Linked DNA regions of Homo sapiens: region 2 is linked to region 1. The links are contacts of gene promoters, found by promoter capture Hi-C in human tissues and cell types (Jung and others, 2019). All regions are on one chromosome and are shown on one strand. The core of a region is centred on a gene start or on the middle of the fragment in contact, and the rest is flanking DNA. Distances in the headings are between cores, read along the strand shown.

Region 1 (3,743 bases), core at 879-3,378:
CCTGGGCAACAAGAGCGAAACTCCGTCTCCAAAAAAAAAAAAAGCAAGGTTCTTGAATTATTTTTTTCTAAACAGGCTGTTTAAGGCAATCTATATAAGCCACTTTCTGGATATGCCAAAGCAAACTGCTCCTCTGCCTTTGTGAGCCACAAACGAAGCTGATCTCTCATTAGCTAATAGATTTATGCTCCAGTATGACAACTTGCTCAGTCGTAGGTGAATAGGTGCGCACACGAGGCTGATCCACAGAGAACATTAGGATGTTTTATTTTGCTTCAAGTGCCTGTGAATCATCCCGACACTCAGTTCCAATGTTCCCTGCAGTTTGAGTTAAAAACAGAATGCAAAGGTAGAAGCCAACACCTACGTTGTGGCAAGCTGTCAATCAGGCCGTGCAGAGCTCAGCAACAGGAAAGGATGTGGTCAGATGTACTCGCTGGCAAGAGTAACTTCTACTAAGACCCTGTTCAGGCTGCATGCTTCCAAACAAACAGCACCATGGGACCCTCCTAACACTGTGACTTTAAACTCAGTCCATACAGTAGGACTTAATGAATTGCACTTGCTTTGGGGCAACTGAAAAAGGAAGATGAAATGTAAAGGAGCTCAGAAACACAGACACCCTCATCTAAAATGAAACTTTACAGTAACCCTCGGATGCCTGGGCCCACCCCGACACTTCCTGTAACCAGACACTCTCCGTTACAGTTCCTTGCCCTCCAAAAGGGGACTTTTTCATTTCATTGCTCAAACCACAATTAAGTCCTTGAGTCTGAAGTCAATTGCACTATCTACACCACGTAAATGACAGTCATTCAATTCCAAATTTCCTTCATCAAACCAACTGCCAGACCCACTGTCCTGGAGTTCTTCAAACACCTACGAATGTCCAACAGGCACGTTAATACTGAGATACCAGCGTCTCCACCTTCAGAGAACTACCCCCCACCCCACACACACCCCGCCATGCAACCTTCCACTCCATTTCTACTCTCAAACTTTCTAACGCACCATTCTTTCCTTCCTCCGAGAAGAAGGTAACTTACATTTGCAGCATAATTTGGTTCAAAAAGATGCCGTCCACTAAATCCATGTACATAGTCAGGTTGTCCTGGCTGCCGCTTCCAAACGGGCCAAAAGTTTTCACCTGCGGGGAGGGGGACGAGGAGAGAAAGACAGGAAGTCACCCCGTGCGCACAAACGGTCCAAAGCTCTCCCAGGCAGAGACTGGACGGGTCAGTGTGAGCAGAAGGGGGTCACCCACGCCCACACCACCCTTCAGCAGGCACCAAGCCCGGCCTTCTCCTAGGGCCTGTCTCCCCTCCCCGCGCGGGGCAACAGACACGAGACAGGAGGAAAAACTTCCTCGCCACTTTTCTCCCGCGTTCCAGAGCGGAAGAAATAAAAATAAAAAGGACTTTTCAATAAATGTCTCACGTCTCAAATCCATTGTAAATCAGTGCGCCCACCCCAGTCTGTTCGCTTTCCCATTCGGCGCCCCCCATTCCCCACCCGTCACCGCCATCCACCGGCTGGTCTCAGGGATTCAGAAAAACTACATGAGATATTTGGTTGGGAAGAATGGGGTCCTTTTCGGGAGTGGCTAAACCCCAGGGACAGGAGTGACCACTGGGACCCGGTCCGCCCCGAGGCAGCCAGCCTAGAGCCCCAGCGGGAACAGGTGTACCCGCCCGGCTCCTGGCCCGGCCGAAAGCGCGGCGGGGTCCCGCGCCGGACGCACAACGGGGGCGCCGGCTCCAGAGTTACAAAGCTCCGGACTCCAGGACGCGGCCCCAACCCCGGCCGGGAGCCACTTGCTGCGTCCCTCGCGCCCCGGAGCCACCCGGGGCCCCGGCCGTGTCGGGTCTGCGGCGTCCCGTCGCCGGGCTAGAGAGAAGCCGGTGCACCAACAAAGGGGCGGGGAGCCAGGCGCACTCACCCAGGTCACCAGCGGGCTCTGCAGGAAGAGCTCCAGGAGCTCCGAGACTGTCACGTCCATGCTGAGGCTGCGCCCGCCGGCTCCGCGCCCCCCGCCCCGCGTCCCCGTTCCCCCGCGCCGCGGCACAAAACGGCTCCGCAGCGAGCAGCGGGCGCGGGGCTGCGGCGGCTCGCGCCCGGGAGACAAAGGCGGGGCGCGCGAGCCCACGTTCCGCGGCTTCGGCGGCCCCGCGCCCCGCCCGGGTCTGGGGGAAGGGGAGGGCCAGCCGCTCGGGGAGGAACAATACGGGCGGCCCCGCCCCTCGGCGGCCCTGGGCGACCGGCGCGCCGCCTCGCGGTGCCAGCCCGGGAGCCCGGGAGCCCGGGCGCGGGACCAGGCTACGCGGGGCGCTGGGAGGGGACTGGTGGCCCGAGGCGGGTGGGTCGCGGGGCCCGGCTCCCCGCCCGTGGGACCGCGCGCCCTCGCCGAGCGCAGCCTCCCCGCGTGTGGGGCCCCAGCACGTGGCGCATCCCTGCGCGCGTGCGCGTGCAGCCGGGGCCCGAGCGCCACGTGCGAGCTGGGGTGCGCGGGCACTGGTGCGTGCCGGGAGCGGGGACGCCCTGCCCTCCGAGGTTGCTCTGCCCTCCGAGGTCGCCCGCAGCTGCCGCCCGCTCTGGGCTTGGGGACCTCGGCCCTGCGCCTTTCCGCACTCCTGGCAGGTGCAGCCCCAGGTACAGTCAAGAGGCCCCGCAAACCCCCGCTCCTCACGCTTGTGCGCGGCGCGATAAACGCGCCCCGACCCTGGGGCTGGGCTGGAGGGCAAAGAAGAAACTTTATGTTGAGTTTAGGCCTTAGGGGCGCGGCCCCTCGCGCCCTACCGTGCCCCACCGTGCCATGTTCCGGGCTGCCTGCCTTCTAAAAGTTCCTGCAGGAAGCAGGTGATGTGGCCTCCCCGACCCGGGCCCGCCCCCACCACTTTGCCGGAGGCGAGCTAAATTCCAGCCGGGGTTCCTAGCAGCAGCTTAGTGGCAGGCGACAGGAAAAAGGGCAAAGGCCCCAACTGGCTGGAAGGCAAGCCCGGGGGCAGGACCTCCTTGCGGGACGGCACGAGGCAGGAGCCGGCTCCAGGCTGGTCTCGGCCTGGTAATAATTTCACACCACCAGCCGGTCATTGTTCAAAGCACTGTAGACCATTTTACTAATTTAACCCTAACGATCGCCGCATTTCGCAGCTGGGCCAACTGGTACAGGGTTGACCCGAAGGGCCCTGCGTGGCGCTTGGCAAGTATACAGCAGGCACTAAATGGCTGCCGACAGGCTCGGTGGTAATTTTGAAAGTTGGCTCTGTGCAGCGTTGGGGCTGCGGCATCTGCTGGTGGCGAGTGGTATTACAGCCCAGCGCTGGCGGACCCCGTTGGGCTGGGGAGGGTTGTGAGATTATGGCCTGAGAGCCAAGGGGGTCGGTTAGGGGTCCCTAGAGACTGTGGAAGGCGGGGTAGCATAAAACACAATGGGGGACTGCGGAGGAACTAAAATTTCGAGACTACATGGTTTTGTTGTGCACCAGAAGTTCATTAGAGAAGTTCCTTAATTGCTTCTCCGCCCGCCGCGATGGCACTCGACCCCGCGGATTAATTTAACAACTCTGATGGTTGCTCTGTGAAATTTAAAGAACAGTGGTTTAAGCAAAGACCACAAGAAAGAAGAATTGAGATCAAAGAGGAGTGTGTGCCATCGCTGTGGAGGAGTTTCAGTTGTGAATCATGAAATGTCCTGTAAACCATTTCAAGGAGTTTGATTTTTATACCAAAAACAATGGGAAGAC
Region 2 (3,591 bases), core at 7-2,506, 530 kb after region 1:
GACCAACCAAATACCAGGACTGCCTGTCACAGAAGTGCTGGTCCCCAATCCAGGATGACATTGTTACAGCTTAGTTTTCAGCACACACACACACACACACACACCCCACAGACACATACATACGCACACAAGGTTAATTTGTTCAAAGCAGTATGTTTTCAAGAGCTCGCTGAATAAAGACTGTGGGTGTCATTTAGGTAAAGTTCTCCAAGACTTAAGGATTACTTAACTGTAATTGCAATTTCCTTAAAGAATAGCAAAACATTTGCTTACATGTATCTCTGTCTGCAGTTCCCACTTCTCATTGGCTTGAAACTTCTGTGAGAATCCCACACAAACATAGAGCAAATCCAGCCCCGCGGTGTTCAGCTAGCCTGTCTGCTTGTCTATCAGCCGATGCGGCGCAGTAATTGCTAGTGAACTAGTAATTGGCCTCCCGAAATTTAAAAAATACATACAAAAATCCCTTAAAACGACAAAGTTGCTGCCCTTTCCAGAAAAGAAAGAGGAATGAAGCGCTGAGAATTTCGCAGCCCTCTCTGATGCTGGCTTTTGAAACTGTATTAGAAAATACCCACTCCCAAAAGAACGCTTCAAGATGGAAATTACAGAGGCGCAGCTTTTTATAATTAACAATATCATTGCATCACTAGCTCATGCCTTTTCCAATATCCTGACACCGCCTGAATCGCAGCCATAACCATTTTCCACCCATCGGATTTTTAGCAAGGCTTCCAGACCCTGGAGAAAGAAAAGTCCAGCGCCGAGAACCCACCTTTTTATTCCTGGCATGTCCAAGACGCGCGAGGAGGAGATGCGAAGGCGAGAAGAAAGCTCGCGGGCGGGACCCCCGGAGGAGCTCGGGCACGTCGGCCTCCTCTGGGCCCTCGGGGCTCGCGGGTGTTTTATTCCAGAGGGGCCGAGCGAGTCGTGGAGAGGACACGGGGAGAGCGCCGGGGTCCTCCCAGCCACTGCAGAGCCCTCAGCGCAAGCACCTGGTTTTGCTTAGCCCTCTTCAGTAATTCAGCATTAAACCAATTGGAGGAGGAATGTTAAAAATGAACACTTCATTTTCTAAGTATGTTAAACAATGCAAATGGGGCCTCAGTCTGGACACAGCTGGTTCAGATTACAGCGCTCACCAACTGGCTAGACTCCTCACAACAATCTTGGGGCGTCTGCCAGGGCCCAGTGCTCGGCGCTGGGAGGAGAGCCCTTCCCCGGCCGCGCTCGGCTGCGAGCGCCCGGGCAGAAGGCGAGGGGCGGGCGCGCGCAGGGGTGCGGGGGCTGGGAGGGCCCGGGCCCCTTGACCTTCCCACCCAGGGGCGGGGCGGGGCTGGCAGCGCGGCCCGGCGGGGAGGGGCGTGCACGCCCGCGCTGCGTGGCAAGGGGACCCGCGAGAACGTTGTCGCCTCCGGAAGGAAAGGGACTTGAACTCACGACCCACGCAGCTCCAGGGACTAGAAACTCACGATCGATTGGGAAACCAGAACCTACGAAGCAGAGGCTTGGGGCGAGCGACGGGAGAGTCGCGATCTTCCCGAAGAAGGGGTGGGGAGCAGCGGGGTGGGGTGGGGGGGAAGAGGATGGAATCCCGCTGGTGCGAATTCCAGACTTCAGCTTGTGCAATGCAAGTCTTAGGACGCTTTTCTCTCCCCGCCCTCATTCCCCGATTCTCCCTGGCATTTTCTCGCTTTCCTGGAAAAGTGTCCCCTGGCTCGAAAGTGATTTTAACAAGTTAAACGGTGATTTGAAGAAGGGACAGTCTGGAAAAGCAGAATGGTGGAGACAGCACATAAGACATGCTGAGTCCTTTGCATTCATTCTAGTGGAGGCTTCAACCTGTTTCTTTTTCCTGTTTGTTTGTTTGTTTGTTTGTTTGTTTTTAAGCCATTGGAGTACTTTTGTCAATGAAATCTTACAGAAGGCACTCACTCTATAAAACGCCAGTGGATGGACTGTGGCCTATCCCATCTGCTTCCACCTGCATCTTCCTACCTGCAGCCGAAAAGCCCTGATCCAGGTCCCCTGTCCTCACCACCACTCTAAGCAGTAGGAATGATCATCTCCATGTTATTAGAGGTGAAGATAAGAGAGGTTAGGTAACCTCCCCATAGTCACGCAGCTATTCATTGGTACAGCTGAGCCTCTGGAGTCTACATATTTAGCCTTCCCTAAGGCATTTTTGGGGGTAAGTAAATGGAATTCTACCCAAAGGAGAATAACAGAATGTGGATAGTTGTTGAAGCTGTGTCCATTATACTAGTCTAATCTATTTCCTTTTACGTGTTTGAAATTTCCTGTAAAACACTTTTTTAAATACCTTATGTTTATAAGGTTGTTCATCCCCCCATTGTTTGTAAAAGCAAAAGATTATAAACACCTTTAAGGTCGATCAGCAAGGCACCAATAGGGTTAAATAAAGTAAGGGGCTTCCAAAGGGACTATTGTGCAACCAATTAAAACCTAGACACTTAAGAGTCCACATCAAACGACTCCATTTATATAAAATTCAAAGTCAGATAGTGACTGGGAGGCAGCCCAGCCCCTTCTGGGTGCTGGTAATAATCTAATGATTGATCTGGATGCTGGTTATGTAGGGGTGTGTACATTTAATATTTGTGAAGTCTTATGTATGTTATATCTTATTTTGAAAAAAAGACTGAAACAGCTCCGTATGCACTGCTATTGAAGGGTTTCCAATATATTTTGTGGGTCAAAACAGTAGAATATTGGTAATTTCACATAGATTGATCTAATATAGTAATAAATGTAAAAAGTAAGCTGCAGAACTGTGTGTAAAGCATGCCATCATTTGTGGGAAAAAAAATAAATACATAAGTTCTTGCTTGTACACGTACAGAAAAGACATCACCTGAAGGATGCACAAGAAACCATGAGTATTATTGGTCTTAGCTCAGGCTGCTATAACAGAATACCATAGACTGGGTGGTTTATGCAATAACATTTATCTCTCCCAGTTCTGGAGGCTGGAAGTCTGAGATCAGGGTGTGGGCATAGCCAGGTTCTCATGAGGGTCCTCTCCTGGTTGCAGATGACTGTCTTCTTGCTATGTCCTCACATGATGGAGAGAGGGAGACTAGGGTTCCTTTTTTTGAGATGGAGTCTCACTCTCTCGCCCAGGCTGGAGTATGGTGGTGTAATCTCGGCTCACTGCAAGTTCTACCTCCCAAGTTCAGGCAATTCTCCTGCTTCAGCCTCCCAAGTAGCTGGGATTATAGGCACGCACCACCGTGCCTGGCTAATTTTTGTATTTTTAGTAGAGATGGGGTTTTGCCATGTTGGCCAGGCTGGTCTTGAACTCCTGGGCTCAAGCAATCCATGGGCCTCGGCCTCCCAAAATGCTGAGATTACAGGCTTGAGCCACCGCGCCTGGCCAGAGACTGGGATTCCTTTTATAAGGGCACTGGTCCCATTCGTGAGAGCTTCACCCTCATGATCTAATCACCTGCTGAAGGCCTCATCTCCTAGAGCCATCACCTTGGGGATTCAGATTTCAACATATGAATCTGGGGGTTTAAACATATGGTCTGTAACCATCTCCTAGGAGGGAAATCAGGCAGACAATTG

The links. Contacts are between HindIII fragments. The study calls those that stand out against the background at their distance.
Region 2: a contact is called between the fragment with the promoter of FBLN5 here and the fragment with the promoter of CCDC88C in region 1, in 2 of the 25 tissues and cell types used here (mesendoderm cells and pancreas).

What each region holds. Positions count from the first base shown.
Region 1 is chr14:91,415,692-91,419,434 of GRCh38, forward strand. It overlaps CCDC88C (coiled-coil domain containing 88C), which reads right to left and starts at 2,129. Exons shown (of 30, transcript NM_001080414.4): 1 at 1,940-2,129; 2 at 1,047-1,147. The coding sequence starts at 1,999. It overlaps CCDC88C-DT (CCDC88C divergent transcript), which reads left to right and starts at 2,555. Exons shown (of 3, transcript NR_184261.1): 1 at 2,555-2,649. It also overlaps the pseudogene LOC112268126. RefSeq lists enhancers at 55-184, 575-704, 715-1,004, 2,610-3,254, 3,495-3,544 and a silencer at 1,625-2,544. The HindIII fragment of the contact is 13,115 bases long and covers 1-3,743 here.
Region 2 is chr14:91,946,438-91,950,028 of GRCh38, forward strand. It overlaps FBLN5 (fibulin 5), which reads right to left and starts at 1,257. Exons shown (of 11, transcript NM_006329.4): 1 at 776-1,257. The coding sequence starts at 792. The HindIII fragment of the contact is 12,789 bases long and covers 1-3,591 here.